4 separate regions of the Homo sapiens genome follow, and all the other regions are linked to region 1. The links are contacts of gene promoters, found by promoter capture Hi-C in blood cells and fetal thymus (Javierre and others, 2016). All regions are on one chromosome and are shown on one strand. Each heading gives the region's core, a stretch centred on a gene start or on the middle of the fragment in contact. The rest is flanking DNA. Distances are from core to core; before and after follow the strand shown. Region 1 holds the start of FOXB1 (forkhead box B1). Region 2 has its middle 72 kb from the start of ANXA2. Region 3 has its middle 9.3 kb from the start of BNIP2. Region 4 has its middle 43 kb from the start of BNIP2.

The links. Contacts are between HindIII fragments. The CHiCAGO score rates a contact against its expected background, and 5 or more counts as called.
Region 2: a contact is called between a fragment that was not itself captured here and the fragment with the promoter of FOXB1 in region 1, in 7 of 17 cell types (M1 macrophages, M0 macrophages, fetal thymus and 4 more). The highest score is 6.6, in M1 macrophages.
Region 3: a fragment that was not itself captured here is called in contact with the fragment with the promoter of FOXB1 in region 1 in 4 of 17 cell types (fetal thymus, M1 macrophages, megakaryocytes and 1 more); the score reaches 5.5 in fetal thymus.
Region 4: a contact is called between a fragment that was not itself captured here and the fragment with the promoter of FOXB1 in region 1, in 1 of 17 cell types (non-activated CD4 T cells). The highest score is 5.1, in non-activated CD4 T cells.

The regions. Positions count from the first base shown.
Region 1 is chr15:60,003,049-60,005,571 of GRCh38, reverse strand. FOXB1 (forkhead box B1) reads right to left here and starts at 1,261. Exons shown (of 2, transcript NM_012182.3): 1 at 929-1,261; 2 at 1-665. The coding sequence starts at 608. RefSeq lists an enhancer at 1,065-1,580. The HindIII fragment of the contact is 10,028 bases long and covers 1-2,523 here.
Region 2 is chr15:60,324,831-60,327,353 of GRCh38, reverse strand. No RefSeq gene overlaps it. Among named protein-coding and RNA genes, the nearest start is that of ANXA2, 72 kb to the left of the region's middle. The HindIII fragment of the contact is 1,656 bases long and covers 437-2,092 here.
Region 3 is chr15:59,697,357-59,699,879 of GRCh38, reverse strand. No RefSeq gene overlaps it. Among named protein-coding and RNA genes, the nearest start is that of BNIP2, 9.3 kb to the right of the region's middle. The HindIII fragment of the contact is 2,342 bases long and covers 91-2,432 here.
Region 4 is chr15:59,731,132-59,733,654 of GRCh38, reverse strand. No RefSeq gene overlaps it. Among named protein-coding and RNA genes, the nearest start is that of BNIP2, 43 kb to the right of the region's middle. The HindIII fragment of the contact is 2,997 bases long and covers 1-2,523 here.

The sequences.
Region 1 (2,523 bases), core at 12-2,511:
TGGTTGGGGAGCGGGTAGGCAGCGGGCACCGGCTGCATGGCGGAGAAGGCCAGCCCCCCAGGCATCTTGTATTCCCGCGCGATGATGTTCTCGATGGCGAAGGGGTGCTTGAAGCCCGAGGGCTGCGCCACGCCGCCCAAGTTGTAGGCGGCGGCGGGCATCTGTGGCAGGTGCGTGCCCGAGGCCGCCAGCGCGCTGAGCCGCAGCTTGGCCTGCTGCTGCAGGTACTGCGCCGCGTCGGCTGGCTTGCTGGGCGCCAGGTGGTCGGACTTAAGCACCTTGAAGCGCTTGCGGCGCCGCAGGAAGCTGCCGTTCTCGAACATGTCCCCGCAGCTTGGGTGCAGCGCCCAGAAGCTGCCCTTGCCTGGCTGGTCCGGCCGCCGCGGGATCTTGATGAAGCAGTCGTTGAAGGAGAGGTTGTGGCGCAGACTGTTCTGCCAGCGCTGCGTGTTCTCCCTGTAGTAGGGGAAGCGGTCCATGATGAACTTGTAGATCTCGCTCAGCGGCAGCATCTTCTCGGGAGAGCTCTGGATGGCCATAGCGGTCAGCGAGATGTACGAGTAGGGCGGCTTCTGGTCGCTGTACGTGTTGCGGCCGGGCCGAGGCATCTTCTTCCTCGCCCTCTTCTTGCTCTGGGTCCGCGCGGGCCGGCGGACTGCTCGGATCTGGGAAGGGGGTGGGTAATAGGGAAAGGTAGCATGGATGCACAGAGACACCGGCGGGGTCAGCCAGACCGAGTAACAGACTTCGGGGGTCGGGGGTGGGGCCTGCGGCGCTCGATCAGCCAGCGCCCGGACTCTTTCGCCAGCAACTTTGCGGGCTTAGTGGGCGCGGGAGGGGAAGCCGGCGAACGGCGCGAGGATAGCCGGGAAGTAAGTCGGTACTGGGGCCAGAATAGGGGGCAGGGACGGAACAGAGAGCTGCTCACCTTAAAGTTGCTTCAAGTTGCGCGTCCGCATCCGGGAGGACGCCGCTGCGCGCCGCTTCTCTCTCGGCGCGCACTCGACGCGCACTCCGCGCGCAGCGTCCGGGTCCGGTTGGACTCGGCGCGAACCTGGGCTCTTGAGCTCAGCCCCGCAGCGTCCCGTGCCGCCCGGTCCGCGACGCTCCTGGAGCGTCCTGCGGGCGGCCGAGCTCGGCTGCGGAGTCCCGGCGCGGATGGTGGCAGCGACGTGTTAGGGCTCCGGAGGGCGCTGCTGTGGGCTCCGCGTCTCCGCTGAGCTAGGTGGCTGCCTCCATGTCCTCCCTCGAACCATCTGATAGTTTTAAGCGGTGACAGGAGCAGAAAAGACCCCTGTAGCGGCGCTTCATTAATGTGCCACTTCTTAGCTATCATATGACAATCGCCTTGGGAGGAGGAGGAAGAGGAGGGGGAGCGGGGGCTGCAGAGGGAGGGGACTGAGCGAGAAGGGAGAGCCCGGCCAGCTCTGGTTTCTTTCACACCTATTTACATGGACACCTTGGCCAATAGGAATCACTTCCAGCTCAAGACTGGGCGAGGGGGAAGAGCCTCGGCCACTGGGCAGGCAGCTGGACGCGCCGGCCGGTGTGCGCCGTGTGAAGGTATGAGGAAGCGGCCGCCGCGGAAGAGGGAGCCAGGCGACCACTCACGTTCACAGATGGAGCAGCCGCGCGGATGATGTTTGACATGGAAATTGCTTGGCTGGGGTATTCTGTTTCCTCTGCGTTGTATCCGGTTTGTATCGTTAGGTAACTTTAGGCACGGCTTTCCCCTGAAGCCGACCCTTTTCCTGCGCTTAGCACTACCCGGGGTTGGTTGCATGGGTTATAATAATGAAAACACACCCTTGCCCCCCAGTCCCCGGAGAGTTAGGTCGAAATTTGACTTGACTTTCCTATGCAGCTGCTTCAGCTTTGTATAGTTAGTGTGTAGCTTTGAAAAAGTGATGGGGTTTACAAATACTTTCAAAATGTGATTGGACATCCCCATGTAAGAACCCATTTTGAATGTAACTGTATTGACCAAATTTTTAAAAATTAAAATAGTGTATCTGGGCGAAGAGTCCAGGTATTTGCTTTAAAAGTCCTCCGGGAATTTGGTTGGACACAGGATGGAGGCTCAGGAGCTGTTGGGGCAAATGTTGTGCGGACCTGGGGAGGGCCTGAGTTTGTTTGACACAGTTTATCACCAGGTAAGCCTCAGGGGCTCTCGCTTTTCCCAGGTGGTTTGAAACTTTAGGACTCAGGCACATCCTGGAAGTTTTCATTTTACACCCGGAACTCCCCTTCCCAGCCCTCCCACCCCCCCAACCTCCCACCCCCCATCCCCCAACTGCCGCTTTTTTTGGTATGGAGAACTTATTTAGGATTTAGAGTGTAGCAAAAGCCGCCTGCGATCCCACTAAGACAGCAGTATCTTCTACAACTTGGGGAAAGAACCATAGAGTTTTCCTTCTTGGGGAGCGGGGAATGTGCCTTGGGTCACTCCGCCTGGTGCGAGCAGCAGGCTCCCTTCGGTTCGGATTCGCCTTGGAAGGGTTAAATGAATCATTATTATTATTA
Region 2 (2,523 bases), core at 15-2,514, 320 kb before region 1:
ATGGCCAGTTGAAGGACACCTGGGGAGAGATGCCACCTCATGAGGTAGACTTTCTCTGTTCCCAGATCAGTAAGGAGCATTGCCTTGCATTTGTGCATAATTTTTGTGTATTTTAAGAGTTCTTGTATATTTAAGAGCTCTCATGAATTCCTGTTTGCTTGAGTGAATGCATTTTAAGGTGTTTCTGGAGAATAGGAGAGGATACAAAATCTAACAAGATACCAAACTTTCAATCCTGAATTGCAACTTGTGTCAACATTGCGCTACTGTGGGTTTGTCAAAACCGCCCTTTAAAAAAAAGTGACTCTAAAGTTGTATTGATGACATTTGACCACAAGAGGACGCTCCAACAAAGCACCTCACAGCTCAAAAGTCTACGTCTCCTTTTCAAACATTTACATGCTGCAATTTCTGCCTGGTCTTATGATATAAAGCTTAATGCCACAAATATTGTTTCAAACTTTATGAAAAGAGTTTTTCTTTTTTTTAAAAAAAGAAGATTGGGAGCTATAGCAGTGAATCCTGAGCTCAAGGTAAACTATTTTCATTAGCTGGAGGTGCTTTATAATTTCTCCATCAGTTTTCAAAAAAGGGACAAGGACTTTAAGAACCTTTTCTTCCTTTAACAATCAAACGAAACAACACAAACTCAAAACGCTTTAAGAACATTTCAATTTCCAAACTAGACCTTTTATGGATCATTTTCCTAAGAGTTCTAAGTCTAGAAATGTGATTAAAGAAAACAAAAACAAACAAACAAACACAAACAAAAAAACATTTTCCAGTCTAGACGCAGCCATCAGCGAAAATGCTCCATTACCTGTTACCTCTTCTAGGATACAGATGTTTGAAAAAGAAAGTGGGCAAGAAGCTATGTGACGGTCTCTGAAGTAAATTAAAGCCCTGGACTGCATTTCCCTAGTAGTCAGATAAAACTTGAGGGCATAATTGCCAACAATGAACACCCTTTCCGTTTAACCAATCTTTACTGATAATAAAATAATTAGAATAATTTATGTGTCTGTGCTATTATTAACGTGGCTTTGCTTAAAGGAGATTCAGCTGGTTGTTCACGGACGTTAAGAGGGTCTCTCCTCCCACCTTCTGAGATGACATGTTTATACCCAGGCAGCACTTCTAAATTTTTAATAGAGAGGAAGAGATTCCATTTAATTAGGTAGAGTGACTTGTTTATATGCAGGTTATACATTTACGAGTTCTCATGAAGAACGGAAAATACCCATTGAGCAGCCTTTGAAGTTTCGCTTGTTTAAAGATAATTGTAAACCCAGCTCAATGGAAACAGCATCTCAGTCAATCAAGTGATTTGAGCATAGAGTAGAGGGAGTTAAATCCAGGTTAAATAATTGCACAAATCACATGTCGATCAATGTTCAAAGGATTTTTTTTCTCTCAAATCAAAGCTCTTCCATCTTACATTTGATTGGAGTATTGAAACTGGGTTATAGAAAAAAATGTTAAGGATGTAACAAGATTTAAAAATGTTAAGGATGTAACAAGATTTTTTTTTACTTAAAAATTATCCACCATTTATATAAAATCCTTTCTCTTTTTTCCTTTTGATTTTTACTTCATATATTCTATATAGCTTATTTTATTTGTGAATTAGGTAACACAAACATGTCACTGTCACAAAAGCATTTTTCTACATTCATAAATCCTTTCTGGAAATGAGAAATCATTTTTTTCTTAAACTCTGACCTAAGGTAAAAATTCCAAATATTTGCGTGCCTTGGATGGTATTGCAAAAAGGCCACCTAAACTAATGAGGTTTCTTGAATTGGTGTACAGAAATGAATTACAATGCTTAAGAAGTTGAAGAGATTTCTCGTGATTTTTAAAGTAATATTAATGATCGTATGGAATGAGAAATTGAGCTTTGTGTTATTACTATAGGATTAGTTTTTAGTTCCTGAAAGCTGGTCTATTTATAGGTATATAGGATGGAATTAAACTCTGAAAAGGTTAATTTTTAAAAAATGTTCTGTAGAAGGTCTATTTCCTATCACCTTTTATAAGTTTCCCTTTGAATTGTAGTTGCAATATGCATTTGGAGTGAGTCCAGGAAGCTTGAATAATAATGTAATCCCCGGGGGAGCCGCTCTTAGCAGAGTGGGTAGGATAAATGAAATGCTACATACAGATTCCTGACAATATATTCATCTTGATATTATCGCAGCTGATGGATTGTAGCAAGGCTGTTCCTAGGGCTTCCCTTTGCCATCTTCAGTGTCTTTATCATTTCAGTGCGAAAAAGAAAAACCCCATCACACAAAAGAAATAAAACATCGTTAATTGAAAAGTAGCACCTTAAAAATATTTGTGGTAGGAAAAATATTTGTTTTGCTGCAAGGAGAACAGAGAGTAGGGAATAAAAGACTAAAGAAGAGAGAAAAAGAAACCAGTGTCCTTTGCTGAGCTCGCTGGCCACATGTAAGGCTCTCAAACATTTTAACCGTTGCACATCATTTTCTTTTTCTTCTGTGTGCTTGTCTAATTTAT
Region 3 (2,523 bases), core at 12-2,511, 310 kb after region 1:
AGATATTAAGGATCTTTTAAAGAAGATAATTCATACTAAACTTCGCATTTCATTTCTCCCTATTATGTATATACCTGAAATTGGAAAGCTTTCTTCTTTTTCCTAGTAAGTACAATTTGGTGTTTTAGCAATTGTATTAGGAGAAGGTGTTTCTCCTTCTTTATCATAAAGGAACCACATAAATGAGAAATAATGTTACAATTTTAATATTTTCTTCTCAGTTATACTGAAATTCATTTTTAAAACTCAGTACATTTTTATCAATTTACAGAGTTCCCATGTTTCAAAATACAAACAATAACCTAGATTCTCTCAGCTGAGTAAGTTACTTTTAGGATGTAAACTATTTTTGGAAATATACTTGTAGAACATTTACCCATTGCAACAGTGAATTAGATGCCACCTTTTAATTTTTATATTTGTATTAAATAAAAATGCATGTGCCTTACATAGAGCCATATCAGTGCTTTGTTTTGTTAAATGTAATAAAATTTCCAATTGACCCAACAATTACTTGTGTATTTTGAAATGCATTTGTTTTCTCTAAACAAATAAGATTGCACTTTGACTCTAAAGATGCAGAATGAATGATTAATGCTTTGATGAAGGACAGTGTTATATCTAATTTTGTGTTAATCTGGATAAGGAGACTGAAACTGACCGCAAAACAGTTAGCTTTAGTTGATCAATTCTTACTTCCACTTACCCACCCCAAAAATAATTTAAAAAACATTATCACTACTAAAATTATCAATCAATCAAACAAACTGCTTTTTTCTAATTGGAGGCTATTGCTTATTCATGTTTTTCTAAATATAGTTGATCACAGTGTTACTAACATTTCATATCCTGAAGAACAGAAGAAAGAGCGAAATCTACTTCCCTCATCAAGATTAATCTTTACTTTAATTATAAACCAAGCATGCAGATACTATGTATTAATACTTTTGCAAGAGCATTAATTATTTCAGTGAAGAATCATTTTTGTAATGACCCCTGTTGAGTGTAGAAGATCTTGTATACTATTCAGTGTAGAGGATTCAGTGTACATGCATCACTGTCCATCAGCTACTTTCCAAATGGCGACCATGATAGTAACCAAGTGGTTGCTATGATTTTGCCAAAGTTTATGATTTTATAATATAAAATGTATATCCTCAGATAATTTTAAACTCATATTTGTAAGTTTTTATGACTGCAGAAATATCCTCACAAAGGACTTGAATATGAACTCTTAAGATTTCTTCACACTGGCCAGGCGCGGTGGCTCACACCTGTAATCCCAGCACTTTGGGAGGCCGAGGTGGGCTGATTACCTGAGAACAGGAGTTCCAGGCCAGCCTGGCCAACTTGGTGAAACCCCATCTCCACTAAAAATACAAAAATTAGCCTGACGCAGTGGCGTGCCTGTAGTCCCAGCTACTCGGGAGGCTGATGCAGGAGAATTGCTTGAACCTGGGAGGCGGAGGTTGCAGTGAGCTGAGATTGTGCCATTGCACTCCAGCCTGGGTGACAGAGTGAGACCCTGTCTCAAAAAAAAAAAAAAAAAAAAACAATTTCTTCACACTATTGGTTTTGATGAGTCATTTAAGCTAGTGTCAGCCTTTCTCAACTTCTGTTGGATGAAATGCACACCCCCTCCTCCTCAGCAAACACGACTATGTCCATATCTGAACGCTCAGTCTCACTTCACTGCAAATTATAACCTAGCTATTTCTTTGAATGAGTTGAATCTCTAAAGTTCTGTGCAATAAAATCCTCTGACAACTAAGCCTAGTTTTTCCCTTGAATGGCTATAATCTAATTGTATATGGAAGTATTTCTTTTTTATTTTTTTGAAATGGAGTTCCACTCTTGTTGCCCAGGCTGAAGTGCAATGGCACAATCTTAGCTCACCGCAACCTCTGTCTCCCAGGTTCAAGCGATTCTCCTGCCTCAGCATCCCGAGTAGCTGGGAATACAGGCATGCACCAGCATGCCCGGCTAATTTTTTTGTATTTTTAGTAGAGACAGGGTTTTTCCATGTTGGTCAGACTGGTCTCAAACTCTCAACCTCAGGCCTCCCAAAGTGCCGGGATTACAAGCGTGAGCCACTGCGCCCAGCCGGATGGAAGTATTTCCTAGAAATGTATATTGCTACTTCTCTCTTGCACACTCTGGGATGTGGAAGCATCACACAACGGTGATGTGTAATTGTGTACAGTCCAATTTGATTTTCTGAAATTGGGAAGCACAAATTCTCTCTGGAACAATTTCTTTGACTGGTTCACTGTAGAAAGGAAACTTGTCACCATGCCAAAGACAAAACTGCTGCTGGGTTTAGTTTTGAATTTTATAAAGTGAACAAGTGAAAAATATATACACATTCATTTCAACTCAAGTTATGAATTATTAAATGAATATATAATTTTATCCAGTTTTACCCTCAAGCTTAACCAGCAAAGACATCTTCAGCCCATGTAAAAAGGTTACTTCATGTTTTTTTTGAAAATTATGAGCAAGCTGCCAAACATCACTGAATTT
Region 4 (2,523 bases), core at 17-2,516, 270 kb after region 1:
ATCATTCCATGGTGGAAGGCAGAAAGGCAAGAGAGTGCAAGCGAGCAAGACAGGGTCAAACTCATTTTTATAACAAACCCACTCTCACAATAACAAGCCCTAACCCTCTTAAAAGTCATGAGACCTAAGCAGTTCTTAAAGTTCTCACCTCTCAACACTGATGCATTAGGGATTAAGTTGCCAACACGTAAACTGTGGGAGACGTTTAAATCATAGCACCAGATGTGTTCTTTGCTCTCATAGCACCCTCTGTCTTTCTTTTTTGCATCTATCACAGTTTAGAATTGCATATAAAATAGTGCAATTGTTCTTCTATTATCCCCACTAGACTGGCAACACCTTGAAGGCAGAAACTGTGTTTTGGCTCCCTTTGTGTCGTCAGTTCATAGCACAAAGCCTAGACATATAAGGTGCTAAGTAAATACTTGCTGAATTAAAAAAATGTGAACAAATGAATGAACGTAAGTGACTATGTTCTAGTCAGAAAGGGGTGAGAAAGCCCAGAAAACATTCAGATGGCACCATGTGTTGCACATTGTTTTTGAACCAGGGCCACGAATGCTGGCTGATCTCATCTCCTCTCCCCAGATGAGAGGCTGGGCTGATCAGTTCACATACAGATAAGTTCAAAGATTTGAAAGGCATGTCTGAGGAGCAATGAAAACTGACTTGCAGACCTTGCTGAGATCTCAATCCAAACTTAGATTTCCATGATTGAAATTCTCATAGCCACCTCCCCTGAATTGCACTCAACTTTTCAAAATGAGATTTTATGGGAACTGATTGTGATTAGATAAATGGGTGACTTCACTAATGTATAATACAATTTTCAATTACAGCATATGTATAATAATTTACATTTCTTGTTTGATGGTGTGGTATTTATGTGACATATTCTGAATGAGACCCGGCTGCTGTTTACATAATGATCTTGCTTTTCTCTTAGAGAAGATCTCGTTTTCAATTTTCTTTTTGTGCAGCAAGGTATTGTCATTCCAAGATAAACATTGTATATTATAGAATGTGCAGGTGAGAAATATCAATAAAGTAATAATCTAGATGGGTTTTAATAATTTTTATATATGCCACTGAATTAGGTAATAGAGTGGTTCACCTTTCATAAAATGTTGGAATAAAAATGTCCCTAAAATTATAGTAAATTTTTTGTGATCTACTGGCTCTATGATCACCCTTGTGGCAAAGTGCCATTGAATAGCAAAAATCAATGTTTTATTGAATATATTTCACCATTAACATAATAGTCATTGCCAGAGTGCTGCTCTGAAGCTGGAACAATATCACTGGAATATGTCTTTTTTCTGACCTTTAAGACTAGGTCTACCTGAAACAAAGGCTTTTATGCATTTAACCCCAAATGTCATTCTTCAATTTCTGGCTAGAGATGGTTGATGCATAAGAGATAAAATAACTCCCAGTGAAGAGCTTTCCAGGCTGGGCACAGTGGCTCATGCTTGTAATCCCAACACTTTGGGAGGCTGAGACAGGCAGATCTCTTGGGGTCAGCAGTTCAAGACCAGCCTGGCCAACATGGCAAAACCCTGTCTCTACAAAAAATACAAAAATTAGCCAGGTGTGGTAGTGGGCGCCTGTAATCCCAGCTACTCGGGGGGCTGAGACAGGAGAATCGCTGGAACCCAGGAGGCGGTGGTTGCAATGAGCCGAGATTGTGCCACTGCACTCCAGCCTGTGTAACAGAGCGAGACTCTGTCTCCAAAAAAAAAAAAAAAAAGAGCTTTCCAGATAGAAAACTATTCTTAAAATAGCAAGCTGGGGGATAGGAAAGAAGAGCACAAAGAAGCCAGGTAGTAGGATATAGTACCCATGGTTTTGAACCTAAGAAACCACATTTGCACAGAGATAGGGGCCAAGAAGGTACCTGCAGCCCTTCACCCTGCTTCAGCCAGAGCAGCTTTCCTTTAGGCATTTTTATATTAGTGTTCCCAGTAAGAATTCATTTAAAAAGGAGAAAAGGCTATTTTAAAAACTTTGCAAAACCACTTAATGGTGAAAAGAGCACTGTTCTAGAACTCAGCCCTCTGAGCTCCATTTCCCCATTTGTAAAATGAAGAGTTTGTATCTGACAGTCTCTAGCATTCACCTGTTCCACAATTCATACTGCCTTATTCCAGGCCAAATGCTAGTGTAGATATGGCTGTTATTTGGCATAACAACCTAATTATGCCATGTTATCAAACTGCATGCTTGCCTCCCTTTTAATGTAACAAAAGATGTAAAATATCCACGCATGGAACCAGCAATATATCAATGGCACTGGCTTCAGATATAAAATGCTCACTTTAACATGGATCGCTGGAAAATATTCAAATAGTCCTCATAATTTCTAGAGTACAGGGTGAAATACCATTCATTTCTCAAGATACATCTGCATTCAAATTAGCCCAACACTATATTAAGTTACAAATAAACCTACGATTTTACCATAATTAAGAAGCATTTCAGAATAATTTCAGATTGTGTTCTACTTATAACTTATTCTAGCAG